5 separate regions of the Homo sapiens genome follow, and all the other regions are linked to region 2. The links are contacts of gene promoters, found by promoter capture Hi-C in human tissues and cell types (Jung and others, 2019). All regions are on one chromosome and are shown on one strand. Each heading gives the region's core, a stretch centred on a gene start or on the middle of the fragment in contact. The rest is flanking DNA. Distances are from core to core; before and after follow the strand shown. Region 1 overlaps MAP2 (microtubule associated protein 2). Region 2 holds the start of UNC80 (unc-80 subunit of NALCN channel complex). Region 3 overlaps UNC80 (unc-80 subunit of NALCN channel complex). Region 4 overlaps MAP2 (microtubule associated protein 2). Region 5 overlaps MAP2 (microtubule associated protein 2).

Region 1 (2,700 bases), core at 97-2,596, 89 kb before region 2:
TAAAATAACTGTAGAGACCCCATTCACTTTAGAATGCTTTAACAGGGAAGATACAATTCTACCTTGTAAGTGACTGAACAAAAATTAAAATAAATATAAATGTAATCTCCATAATAGTAGGGGTCAGATTTATCAATGAAATCAACACTTCCTTATGAAAGTGTCAGGAATTATCTCTGTTTTGCTCACTGTTATATTGCCAAGACCTTCCCCAGGGCCTGACTCATAGCAAATTTAATAAATATTAATGAATAAATGAAGAAGTTAATGAATGAATCTGATATTGAGAGCATTGAACTGGAAGCTGAGCTCATGACTCTTTCCTGTTGAGACCTGTTATTGTCCATGGATCTTTTTATGAACTTACTCAACATGGAATGTCATGTTAGCTTTTCAATTCTCATTGATACAACAGAAAGATGCCTTTGAAGAATTTTCATTCAGAATCTGAGATGAAAGGCACTACTTAAAAGGAAACCATTACTGGTTCTCCGACTTAGTCCAGTTAACCTTTGTTTATTGTTTGAGAGTCACAGGAAAAGGCAGAGAAGAACTAGGGCTCCATTGTTGTTTCAACATTACTTAGTTTTCATATATTAAAACCAGAATTTTAAAAGTGTTTATTTTATTCATTTATTCATTTATTTTTCCTTTTTACTGTGTTAAAGACTGAAGAACATTTATTTTAAAAGACTTGTCTTTTTATCATTTGTAATTAGGTTCATTTAAAATATTCTTTGATTTCGTAAATACAAAAATTTGAATTAGTGAACCATATATTATCACCTCTAATATAATTTTATTTTGTCACAGATTTATAAACCTAAATTTATTTTAGCAAGGTTTTTCTTTCTTAAATTGAAGCTTTTTTTTTCCAATTTACTGCCTGAAATAATAAACAAACTAAATTTTTCTGAGGAATAAAAGAAACTTTGGGGATAATAATCAGTGCATAGCAGCCACTGATTATTAGTTAATGTGATTTAATCTTTTAATTTATAGGTTTGAAAAGTTCCTTTTGACCTTATGTTTATCCATTCACTGGGCACATATTTATTGAGCCCTACAGTCTTCCAGGTACTCTTCAAATTCTGAGTATATACTAGTGAACAAAACAGACATGATCCCTGCTTTTAAAGAGTACACTATAGCCGGTAATCCCAGCACTTTGGGAGGCCGAGGCGGGCAGATCACTTGAGGTCAGGAGTTCAAGATCAGCCTGGCCAACATGGTGAAAACCCGTCTCTACTAAAAATACAAAAATTAGCCAGGCATGGTGGCGTACGCCTATAATCCCAGCTACTCGGGAGGCTGAGGCAGGAGAATCACTTGAACCCAGAAGGCGGAGGTTGCAGCGAGCCAAGATGGCACCATTACACTGTAGCCTGGTGACATAGCGAGACTCCATCTCAAAATAAATAAATAAATAGTACACTATCTAGTGGAGAACAGAAATCCAATAAATAAGCTTACCAATAATTTCAAATTGGATTAGCATTGAAGAGGAAAAGAATAGGGAGCTTTAAAATATTACAAGAGAAACCTGATTTTATTGGGTGGTGAGGGGATGGCTAAGTAGCTGAGACCAGAAGCATGAGGAGGAAGTGTTGGCCAAATAAAGATAGAAAAAAGCACAAGGGCGCTCAGGTGCCCAAGAAGATGAAGTGACCCAGGAACTGAAGGGGGTCCGTGGCTGATGGGTAGTGAGAAAGGGTAGAGCAGTGGAGTGTGAGAGTAAGCAGTGGTCAGCTGGGGTCAGTGGCCTAGATTTCATTCTGAATGCAGCGGGAAGCCTGACATGACCCTTGTACCTCCTTCAGGCCATGGAAAATGTTTCTAAGCTCCTACTTAAAGCTTTTCAAGCATCAGAGAATCCTCTTAACCCAGAGAGGGATATGATGTTGACAGAGCAGGTTTACTCCAAAAGTCGGCTTGAGGTCAAGTCATTTAATCTTCTTACTCTATATGGGATTTGGAACAGAAAGGGAAGAAGCAGAGTCCTCCCATCCATCTGGGAATTCACCCAGCCTGCTTCCTGTAGGGTAATATGATGGATATAATGAAAACATAAATAAATAAAATGTAGAATCACCTTCACATTTTGGTAACTTAGGTGTCAACTTTCCAGAGTTCCCTAATATTTTGGAATTACTTTCTTCAAGCTGTTTCAAGATATTCAAGGAAAATACCACCTAACCTCTTATTGAAAGTAATTCAAAGTTATTTTCAAGCCAAACTTGTGTTTTTAACTTTTTGAGTATTGAACTATCTGAAGTTCTGATTATTTGATTTTAAAAGTATAACCATTTTTTGAGTTTTAAGAAAAACAGATGTATATATTTTATAAACTCTATCTCTATAAAGACCAGATAATATTCTCACCTTAAATATGTAAAAGATTTGTGGTCTAGACAAACTACTGTTTCTCTTTTATGTTAAGCCACACTTAAGTAATATACAAGTATTTTTTAAGTTTAGTTTTGTCAGAAAATAAATTAGTGACAAGTCACAAGACAGGATTGAACTGTTCAATTTTTCAAACCAAGTAGTTTGTAAATACTCAGCCCAAATTCCATCAATATATTGCTTATAGCAGGTCAGGTGGAAAGGGAGCAGGTGGATTTTTTTGCCTTATCTAGGGGATTATTTACCCTCCTTGATACCCTCAAAGCAACTTTAATCTGAGGGTATAGTGACTGC
Region 2 (2,700 bases), core at 61-2,560:
ACTATGCTGTTAATTATATATGAAATATTACATCTGTTGAGATTAGGACCTGGAGTCTGATTCTTCATTTCATGGATTACACCAATATCTTTGCTCTAAAAGATGAGGCCAGGCATGGTGGCTCATGCCTGTAATCCCAGAACTTTGAGAAGCCAAGGTGAAAGGATTGCTTGAGCCCAGGAGTTTGAGACTAGCCTGGGAAACATAGTGTGACCCCCATCTCTACAAAAATAAAAAATTAGCTGGGAGTAGTGGTGCACACCTGTAGTCCCAACTGTTGGGGAGACTGAGCTGAGAGGATCTCTTGAGCCTGGGAGGTCAAGGCTGCAGTGAGTCGTGATCACACGTCTGCACTCCAGCCTGGTTGAAGAGCGAGATTCCGTCAAAGAACAAGAAAGAAGAAAGAAGGAGAAGGAGGAGAAGAGGAGGAGGAGGAGAAGGGGGAGGAGGAGGAGGAAGAAGGAGAAGGAGGAGGGGGAGGAGGAGGAATTGCAGGTAGTTACTATTCCGATTGCTTCACCCCACCTCACCCCCCTCCCCGGCCTACTTGTTTTACTCCTAGATAATATATCTAACAGCAATCCAACTATAAAATATTAATATATGTAACATATAAGCATTTGACTATTACAACTGAAGGAAAATGGTAGCTATCACTGGGGGCGAACAGGATCACCCAAGTGCATTTAATGGACTGTAATAAACCACATTTCCTCACAGCATGATTCAAATGTTCTTCCTCAATTTGCAATTAACTGATATCCACAACTGGTTACTTTGGGAACTTTGTATTCCTGCTTTAGGAAAACAAACAAGGTTTATTTCTTGTGGTTATCATATAAAAATAACTTCTCATATCTAAGATCTTTCAAGCTTCCTCTCACTTGCCAACCTTGCCTCACCTTCCTGGTTTACACTTCTAATAATTTTCATGTGTTCCTCCGGCTAACCCCTGGACTCCTGATCTCCTTGCTGGAGGTGAGAATGATGCCAGGGTTAGCGACTGCTCTGCGGTTCCCCAAAGCTCCTCCTACCCAGACGGCGACAGTTTGGATGCTGAGGTTGGAAAGCAGGACAGGGGACACTCCTGAGTGCAGCTCGGAGCGGGGAAAGCCGAATTCCGGGGGCTGAAGAGGCCGCGCAGGGGACGAGCGCCTGCGATGCGGAGCGTGGACTTCTTGGGCCGTACCCCTGCGGCTCAAGCTGCCCCGGATTCGCTTCTCCGGCCGTGCAGCCCGGCGCGGGCCGCTGTCCACAGTGGGAGGTGCTGAAAGCAGGGAGCGGGTGCGGGGGCGGCGAGGCGGACCGCTGCTCCGAGCGCCCCCCTCCTCGCTCCGCGGCTCCTCCAGCCCTCCCCTCCTCCCGCAGCCATGTTCCACGCGCGGGGAGGGGTGGGGGGAGGGGAGAGGCACGGGGGATCAGGGCGGAGAGAGCCGGCTCTGCCTCGGGGAAGGAGGGGATGAGAGTTGGGAGCAGCGGGAGGAGGCGGCGGCGGCGGCTAGCGAGGAGACAGAGCTGGGTCCTGCAGTAGGACTCCCGGGAGCCACCATTATGGTGAAGAGGAAGAGCTCCGAGGGCCAGGAGCAGGACGGCGGCCGCGGCATCCCCCTGCCCATCCAGACCTTCCTGTGGCGGCAAACCAGGTGAGGGGCGCAGAGGGCGCACCGCGGGCCGCCCTGGGCTGGGGGCGCTCCTGGGGCCGCCCGGGTCGCCGCTGCCGCCGCCGCCGCTGAGGCCGCGCCACAGCCTGCAGCTCCCTCTCTGGGGCTGGAAAACAAGCCCTCTGCACCAGCTTAAAAACACGCATTAAAATATGTATATATATGTATATATTTCAGTGAAGTTTGACGACAAGCAGATTGGCAGTTGTCGCATAAATGTATACATTATTTTAGGGGGTGGGAGGGCAGAGAGCCTGGGAAGAGGGGGCGGGGAGCTAGATAATTATGACTGGTTGTGCTCCTGCGTCCAATTCCCCCTCCATCTCCTGCTGTAATTCTAGCCCAGTGACCTGTTGTTTTTCCAGCTCCTGTTTGGCGAATATCTGCTATGCCCACTTGTTAACCGTTTTGCTCAGATTAATCTCCCCAGTTAAATCTCCTGAGGATTTGTGATAAGGGACCTTCCCCCACAACCCCGGAAAGGCCTGACACCTATTCCAATAAACAGAAAAGGTTTTCTTTATTATTGTTATTTTAGAGATTTATCAGATAAGATATTAGATTCTGGAAATTATGACCCATAAGCCGTGTTCAATTTTCAGTTTTTATTATGACTGTACACGTAAGTAATGCACCACTTCTGACCACTGGCGATTTAAAATCTTAGAAGTCTTCAGATTAAGAGTGGATACCGAAAACCATCGAGATCCACTTCTCTTTCATATATGCAATTACACGTGTAAAAGAAAATGTCATCAGCTGTTCAACACCTGCTCATTAAAAAGCTATAAGGAAGCATGAAATTTGAATTTCATAGCATCCTGTCTTATTCATTGAAAAATACGTCACAAGGATGCTTTAATAATAATTTTACTTATGTTTATTAACAAATATCTCTATTAATTTTTCAGTGCATTTTTGAGGCCCAAACTGGGGAAGCAATATGAAGCTTCTTGTGTGGTATGTGATTTTCACCATTTAATAATTATTTCCCTATTCTGTGTGGTGGTTTGAACCCAAAGACAGATTTTAAATCAAA
Region 3 (2,700 bases), core at 1-2,500, 69 kb after region 2:
TTCATTCATTCATTCATTTAATTTTTCCCACAGTATTTTTCAATACCCTACTATGTGCCTCTTCTGTGTGCAATCACTACACTAGCCATCAAGGATTAAATAGCAAGCAAATACACACAGCCTCCTAACTTTGCTAAACTTGTAATATAGTAGGAGCCCCAGTCATTAAAGCGGATAATCATACAACTAAGTGTAATTGCAAACTATGAATTTTATGAAGGAAATATACATAGTTCTACGAAAGCATGCAACAATGAGACCTGACCTGAATGTGGGGGAGGAGGCAGAAATCAGGGAAGGCTTCCTAGTGGTAGTGGCATTAAGATCTCCGGGATACTTGGGAGAAGGAAGGAGAGCACTCCAGGTAGCCATTATTTGCAAAGATATTAGGAGGCTGAAGGGAAGTGAAGGAACTGAAACAAGGGGACAAGTGGCGGTATGACTATAGTAGAATGATAGGGGCCAGATCAGGTTGACTCTTCATTCTAGATCCCTAGATAGCCAAGATGGGATGTTGAACAGGAGAGTAACTCAAGCAAGTAAACTTTTTGCAAAACTTCACTGCATGGAAATCATACTGGAGGGAGCATAAGTAGATAAGGGAGACCAGAAGGAAAGTTAGCTAGTAGGTGAGGTATAAGTAAATGGAAGCTTGGACTGGGTGGTGGCCATGTAGGCAGAGATAAATGAACACATTTGAGAAGTATTTAAGAGGTAAAATTCACAGGCTTTAATGAGAGATGTGAAGCTGGATAGATGATGGTTTCCTTTCAACCCAGATTCTTTTCGTCTTGGTCCCACATGCTTATGCAATTTTATAGTCTAACACTGAACATTTTTATTCAAAGCATGTACATTGAAAACAATTTGTTTTTCTATTTATACCAAGCCATGTAACTTTCATCGCTTGTTGGGCTTATGTTGACATTTCTGTTTAATTGATTGGATAGAAAATGCTACATTGATCTAAGTGATTTAACTATTAAATAGGGAACTGGCTGAAGAGATCATCCCTCTCAGGCCTGGCAGATGGTGTGGAGGACCTCCTGGACATTAGCTCTGTGGACCGACTCTCTTTCATCAGGCAAAGCTCCAAGGTAAACAGGACATAACTTGTGTAAGTGACTGTTGAAGTCGCTGATACAAACATGTGAAGGCTGAGAAATAGCAAACACCTGCAGGGGCCAAATAAGGAAAAGCTGAAGAAACTCTCCAGATGAGCTAACTTTGGAAACTTAGATAAGCAATGGAAACTAAATTGTTTAAGTAGTAGGCTATCATAGGAAGGGAAAAAGAAAAGTGTGGTCAAAAAATTATATAAAATTATAATGCAGATATAGGGATGTATATAGACATTATTTCCCAGCTATTTTTAACTTTTAACACACCTATGAAATGACTGACATCTCAAACTCCTGTCCAAGGATCTGGTAATTTTACAGTGATCCCTTTTACATATTAAGACACACATAATTCATCCTTTTCCCACTACTTTTGGCACCATGTGAACCACTGTCTGTATTGAAAAGAAGAAAGAATCTCGGGATGACCTTTTTCACTACACTCCTCCTTCGTAATACTGTGAAGCACTGGAGTAACGTAAGGTTTCTTCTGAGAGTCCACCCTGTGGTTGCTTCATGGCCTGGTCATTTGTATGCCTAATTTTCAGCATATGATAAGAGTTATGTTTCCTTTTATGTGTACAAATTATTTGCTTGCATTCTTTTGTTTTCTAATCTCACTAAAACCAGGGTTGTTTTTGTTTTGTTTTGTTCCTTGTGGGTTTTTGTTGTTGTTGTTGTTGTTTTTGTTTTGTTTTGTTTTTGATGGAGACTCGATCTGTGGCCAGGCTGGAGTGCAGTAGCACAATCTCGGCTCACTGCAACCTCCGCCTTCTGGGTTCAAATGATTCTCCTGCCTCAGCCTCCCGAGTAGCTGGGACTAGTGCGTGCCACCATGCCCAGCTAATTTTATATTTTTAGTAGAGACGGGGTTTCACCATGTTGGCCAGGATGGTCTCGATCTCTTGATCTCGTGATCCACCTGCCTCGGCCTCCCAAAGTGCTGGGATTACAGGTGTGAGCCACCACGCCCAGCCAAACCAGTTTTCTTTTATCTAGTCTGTTTTAAAAGTGATATTTTGAAATTACACAAATAATATGCAAGACTATAGCATATTTAGAAAATATATGTATCATTCCTTCCTTACCTTCTATTTGCTAAAAAACATAAGTCATGTATTTGAGTTTGTGTGGCCCATAGCTTCCTTGCTGTGCGAAAAATTTTGAGTACTGCTGAGCTAAAAGCAAGATGAAGAACATATTTTAATTCTTAGAAAGAGAAACATGTTATTACATTTTTATTATAGTACACTCTATAAATTACCTTATACTGATTCTTTCACAGAGATTTAAAGTATTCTATTTAGCTATCTTTCACTTTGGTCTGATTCTCAATTGTGGTATTTGTAAAGAATGACTATGTCTCGCTATTCATTAATTTCAGTTTGGACTTTATCAGATTTAAACTCTAAGAATATCTCAATTATTTTTATAGCACCTGATTATTTAGCTTTTAATCTGGGACCTGGTTCCTCCTTTTAGTTACAGTGATGTCTTTTTTGGCACATGGGAATGAACTACACTGATGACCAAACTAACCAGATGTGGAAGCCAGAAGAGCAAAGTAATAGTATGAAAA
Region 4 (2,829 bases), core at 300-2,799, 72 kb before region 2:
ATTTCAGGGCAAAGTATTTATTTTATATGTTTAATTATACTAGGATAATCTTACCTTACACTATATTTTATTTTAGCATTTATTAAGTGGCATGCTTGTAGTCTACAAAATGACAGATTGCTAAATCAGAAAAGAATGTTTTTCTTTCCATTGTACATCATCAATGCCTCTATATAAATCTTCGGATGGTTTTAAAGGTTAAGAGGAACATTAGCCTTTGTGAGAAAGAGAAAATCAAGGTAACTGATGGTTTTATTTTAGCCATTGAAAATTCCAAGTATTTTGTATTTGTGTTCTTCATCTAGAAATCATATCATGTGCTTTCCTTCAAAAACAAGAATCTAAGGCAGGATTTGAAAATAGAAGGCTTGTATATACGCACACCTTGATAAAGCTTCAGGATGAAGAATATATCTGAAGCTAGGAGTTAGGAATTAACGTGACATACCTCAATTCATTTTCTCAGGTTTTTAGCTTCATTAAACTTAGAACTTCATTAAACTTAATAGCAAATTAATAGCTTCATTAAACTTAGTAGCAAAATTGCTTGGGCAAGCAGAATCTCTTGATTTAGCATAAAAACTCTATAACCTACCTAAAAGGATGAAAGATGTCATCAGGATTGTGGAATTTTAGAGAAAACGTAAAATGGTTTAGTAAAGTGTTTACATGTCATTGGTATTCAATTTGCCACATTTAAAGTAAATTGTGTTTTTATTCATTCTTTGAAAGAAATTTAAAATCTTTGAACTAATGAAGATTTTCCTTTATTCTGGTCTAATGTTAAGATACTTTAGGAGAAAGCATGTATCAGATGTAGGTGTCATTGGTTTGAAGCAAGCTATACATGTCACAAGAATTTGAGTTATATTACAGAGATAGTAGTAAGGCATCGTTTTCACTGCTTCCTTAAAAACAATGAGTCCTAGAATCTGAAAAATCTCACTAGCTAGTCCTACATGGCATAAAGCATATTGTAGACAGTTATTATGTTTGTGTCAGAACTGTACCTGTCATAAAAATACCTTTTTAGAACTTATTCAGAGGGCTTATAAGGATACATTTTTTTTCTGAGGGTTTCTATTTTATGAATGAAAATTAAGGAGGAATAAACACACAAGCTTGATTATTTTATCTTCTAAGCCCAATTTTCAAACATAGATGGTTTTCCAAACCACAAGGGATTGTTTTAAATCATGAGAGCTAAGCTACCTCAGGTAAGTCATCAACCAAAATGTGCTAGAGATAATGGAGTTTAAAATTGAATCCAGAAGCATAAAACAGCAGCAAGAGAAACAACAGTAACAGATGTGGTAATAATTTCATACAGGAAGTGCATGTGTAGAACATGTTCTGTATTTACTGAACTTAAATTTTCTCTCGTGTTTTCTGTTCTTGACAAGCTATTTTTCTTCCCTTCTCATGTGGCATTTTCACATCAAACAAGTATGTCATTCATATTGTGAAATGAAGGGATACAAAGGGAAAGGGGTTAGCTGATCATGACAGTTTGAAATGTAAAATACCGAAATATCTATGGTTATGCCAGTGGCTTCCAGAACAAGAAGAGGGTTTGGAAATCTCTATGAACCCTCTTCTATATATCATGTGAACCCCAGAAACCAATCAGTGTTCTTTTTCTTAAATTTTGCAACATTCACATTGCTATTCTGTAACTTCTGTTCTAAAGGATCTCCTTACGTACTAGTGATTCAAAGATACATTGGTAATCAATAGAAAAATTACGTGGTGTGCTTACCTGCACTTTGGTAGACAATGGGTTATATTAATTAGCACACACTATTTGTTGGAGCCACATGCTATGTTATTGTTATTCATGTTACTTGAGTTATTGAATTTGAGTCTCATAATAAGCAAACTTTTGCTTTGCATTAGTCTGTTGACACAACAGAATATCCTACAGGTATTTAAAACTGCATTTATGACTTTTTAGCAACTAAGTTTGGGGTTGTTTGTCTTTTATTTTCAACAGCAGCAGGTGGGGAATCAGCTCTGGCTCCCAGTGTATTTAAACAGGCAAAGGACAAAGTCTCTGTGAGTAAAATAAGTTTTTCCTTGTTCTTCATTTGAAGTTCCTTTGGTATTAGCTGTAACATCAGAATAACTTTTGATATTGTTTAGATATTTACTCTTAAAAGTCACTTTAAATAGTTCGCTCACCCAGAAGATTCTCCGTGGCATCCAGGCATGGAAGGATGAACGTCTTCTGGGATGGCGTATGATGGTAATTGGTGAGGGCACAGCTGGACTGCTTCCTTACTAGTAAGACAAAAACATAGAAAGCAGCACAATGATATGGCAAAAGTAAGGAAGTCCAGTTTAGTTACTTTTCATAGAATCAAATTAAACCATATAATCAACAGTAACTGTATTTTATAATACACTTTCATTGTTTTTGTTACAAAATAGAAATATGACCAAATGAAGCACTGCACACAAGCAGAAAGAAGTAGAAATCAATTATAATCCTCTTATCATAAAGATAAACACAGCTATCATTTTGATGTAAAATCCTAATTTTTTTCTATACATTTATAGGCTTAACAACAAAAATGAGAACACTGTGTATCACTTTTTAAATTCAACAGTAAATGTACTTCCATGTCGTTGAACATTTTGTAAGTTTTAATGACTACGTAATACTGCATTTTATTTCTTTGCAATGATATACTTAATCAATTTCCTATTATTTGACTTTTAGAATTTTTTGTTGGTATTTTAACAATATTACTGTAGAGAACTTTTTGGCTAAGTTCAGTTTGTATGCTATTTCCTTCATTTTCTACTAGTGAAATTATTGTTTCAAGA
Region 5 (2,700 bases), core at 102-2,601, 110 kb before region 2:
TGTCACTTTTTCAGGGAGCTCACCATGGGAGCTATGTCTTATAAAATCTGGCCCTATACTATCACATCCACATAACTCCAGCAGCCAAGTGACCAACACTCAGTTATATACATTTATTGTTGCTGCAATTTTTTTTTTTTTTTTTTTTTTTTTTGAGATGGAGTCTCGCTCTGTCGCCCAGGCTGGAGTGCAGTGGCGCGATCTCGGCACACTGCAAGCTCCGCCTCCCGGGTTCACGCCATTCTCCCGCCTCAGCCTCCCAATAGCTGGGACTACAGGCGCCCGCCACCAAGCCCGGCTAATTTTTTTTGTATTTTTTAGTAGAGACGGGGTTTCACCGTGTTAGCCAGGATGGTCTCTATCTCCTGACCTCGTGATCCGCCTGCCTCTGCCTCCCAAAGTGCTGAGATTACAGGCGTGAGCCACCGTGCCCGGCCTGCTGCAATTATTATTATTATTATTATTATTATTATTATTATTATTATTATTATTTTGAGACCGAGTCTCGCTCTGTCGCCCAGGCTGGAGTGCAGTGGCGCGATCTCGGCTCACTGCAAGCTCCGCCTCCCGGATTCACACCCATTCTCCTGCCTCAGCCTCCCGAGTAACTGGGACTACAGGTGCCCGCCACCACGCCCGGCTAATTTTTTGTATTTTTTTTTTTTTTTAGTAGAGACAGGGTTTCACTGTGTTATCCAGGATGGTCTTCATATCCTGACCTCGTGATCCGCCCGCCTCGGCATCCCAAAGTGCTGGGATTACAGGCGTGAGCCACCACACCCGGCCTGTTGCTGCAATTATTAAGTTTGAAAACACATGAAGGAAAAGTTTGGCAGCTCTCACATGCAAAAAGCTGCATATGCCTTTAAATAAAGCTTTTCTCTCTGTTCTGCTTTTCAATCTCAGAAGATTCAAATCTATCTTTTCTCACCTCGCCCTTTCTCCCCTGCCTCCGTTTCTAGATTTGCGATTTACTAATAGGAGTCAGCATCCCATTTAAAATATGGCCTATTCTATGTAATATATTAATTTATGCGGAGCAAAATAGCACTGAGCCATTTCTCCTGCAAAATGACTAAAGCCATCCACACCAACCCCCCAAGCAAATAAACAAGCTCGCCTAACAATGCGAGAGGTTGCAGATTTTCCTTTCCTAGTTGCCATGCCAACCACTCATTGCTCTGGCTGCCATTTCCCTGAGCTCCGCAGAGAGAGGAGTGTGCAGAGCAGAGTTATTTAGCATTCAAGGGTGGATCTGCAGAAAATCACACAGCCTCACTGCGAAGCATCTGGGCCTGGTGGCACCGATGGATGAGGACAGAAAATGGGGATCTTTTCAGTGTTTTCCTTCTAAAGGTTAGGCATCCGGGGCTAGAAAGAGTGAGAAAGACAAGGATTGATAGAAAAGGCAGTTCCACGAGGTTTGTATTGTCACGTTTGCTTTGTCCTATGTGGTCTCTCTACTAGGTGAAGCTGGTTGTGGGGATTAGCTTCAATCATAATATTTGGCTTGGCTTGTTGATGAATAGGATTTGAACCTAATTTAGGGCTAGCTTATATGGATATTATAATAAAGAATTGTGTCTTTTATTCTTGATACAATATGAGGTTGTATATAGCAGGTATTGCCAGCCACAGCGTTTGATATTTTACAAATTAGAGGAAAAAAACCAACATCAGATAAAGTTTTGTTTCATTGTACAGCTATAAGGTAGTTTGTCCCATAAAAATCTGTCTTTGCTCTGTAGTCCAGTCTTAAGGTAGGATGAGATTTTCTTAAGACGGTAATTCTTAATCGATATATGAGGAAAACTTGGTTTCTCAAGACTTGTTTCCATTAAACCCTATGACTCAACAAATTAAGGTATGATTTTATTCCTTGGAATTTTAATTGCCTACAAACACTTCAAGTTGTGAAGAGCAAGGCTCTATCTAACACAATATAATAGGATATTTAAAAACTGAGGTTAATTGCATTCACATGTACTTCTATGTGTGTTCCTCAAGAAAATTCCTCCCATGCACTGTGGAAATCAGTCTCGTTTCTTGTCTCGCTTTGTGCTAAATGTCAGAACTACATCACAAGCGCAAAAAGTATTTCCTCAGACGTTTTGGTCCACTGACATTTTAAAAATTATTTTGTTGAATTTGAATCTTAACGAAACAGATTTTTGCCAATGACAATTCAGACCTATTTATGAAAATTATTCTTTCTAGTTTGTTTTTAAGTGCAAATATAATTTAATTATCATTGTAATTTTTACTTGACCTTTCTCTCATCCCATTTTTTCCAAGATCTTGTTAAGTTTTCTCTCCTCTAATATGCTGTCATGTTTTGTCATCATATTTTTCTTTTAATGTTTTTCAATTTTTTTGAGATTTAAAAAACCTCCATTTAGATAAAAATTTAAAACAATTCTTAAATTCTTTTTTTATTTTTAGCAAACAGATGAAAGTAATAAGTAATGGGAGTGAGTCTTCTAGACTCATTTTTGGACTGTCTAAGCCTTTGTTTTGGTTAGGATTATGCATGGCCTTTATCTGTCCTTTGTTATATTTCGGAGTATTTTCTCCTCACAAAAGAGAAAAAGAAAAAAAAGATAAGATAAAAAATCTAATACTTTTGAACAAATAAATTGCTCAAATATCTTGAGACTATATTTCTTATCAAGCAATAATGTGTTTTTAAGTGTGAGATAT

The links. Contacts are between HindIII fragments. The study calls those that stand out against the background at their distance.
Region 1: a fragment that was not itself captured here is called in contact with the fragment with the promoter of UNC80 in region 2 in 3 of the 25 tissues and cell types used here (dorsolateral prefrontal cortex, hippocampus and pancreas).
Region 3: a fragment that was not itself captured here is called in contact with the fragment with the promoter of UNC80 in region 2 in 2 of the 25 tissues and cell types used here (bladder and hippocampus).
Region 4: a fragment that was not itself captured here is called in contact with the fragment with the promoter of UNC80 in region 2 in 2 of the 25 tissues and cell types used here (mesendoderm cells and thymus).
Region 5: a fragment that was not itself captured here is called in contact with the fragment with the promoter of UNC80 in region 2 in 2 of the 25 tissues and cell types used here (H1 embryonic stem cells and dorsolateral prefrontal cortex).

Annotation. Positions count from the first base shown.
Region 1 is chr2:209,681,079-209,683,778 of GRCh38, forward strand. The region is part of intron 7 of MAP2 (microtubule associated protein 2); the gene reads left to right. Among named protein-coding and RNA genes, the nearest start is that of UNC80, 89 kb to the right of the region's middle. The HindIII fragment of the contact is 3,730 bases long and covers 1-2,700 here.
Region 2 is chr2:209,770,522-209,773,221 of GRCh38, forward strand. UNC80 (unc-80 subunit of NALCN channel complex) reads left to right here and starts at 1,311. Exons shown (of 65, transcript NM_001371986.1): 1 at 1,311-1,643; 2 at 2,573-2,621. The coding sequence starts at 1,552. The HindIII fragment of the contact is 3,928 bases long and covers 1-2,700 here.
Region 3 is chr2:209,839,552-209,842,251 of GRCh38, forward strand. UNC80 (unc-80 subunit of NALCN channel complex) reads left to right here. Exons shown (of 65, transcript NM_001371986.1): 20 at 991-1,097. Among named protein-coding and RNA genes, the nearest start is that of UNC80, 69 kb to the left of the region's middle. The HindIII fragment of the contact is 4,031 bases long and covers 1-2,700 here.
Region 4 is chr2:209,698,284-209,701,112 of GRCh38, forward strand. MAP2 (microtubule associated protein 2) reads left to right here. Exons shown (of 16, transcript NM_001375505.1): 11 at 1,994-2,055. Among named protein-coding and RNA genes, the nearest start is that of UNC80, 72 kb to the right of the region's middle. The HindIII fragment of the contact is 5,822 bases long and covers 1-2,829 here.
Region 5 is chr2:209,660,258-209,662,957 of GRCh38, forward strand. The region is part of intron 5 of MAP2 (microtubule associated protein 2); the gene reads left to right. Among named protein-coding and RNA genes, the nearest start is that of UNC80, 110 kb to the right of the region's middle. The HindIII fragment of the contact is 3,752 bases long and covers 1-2,700 here.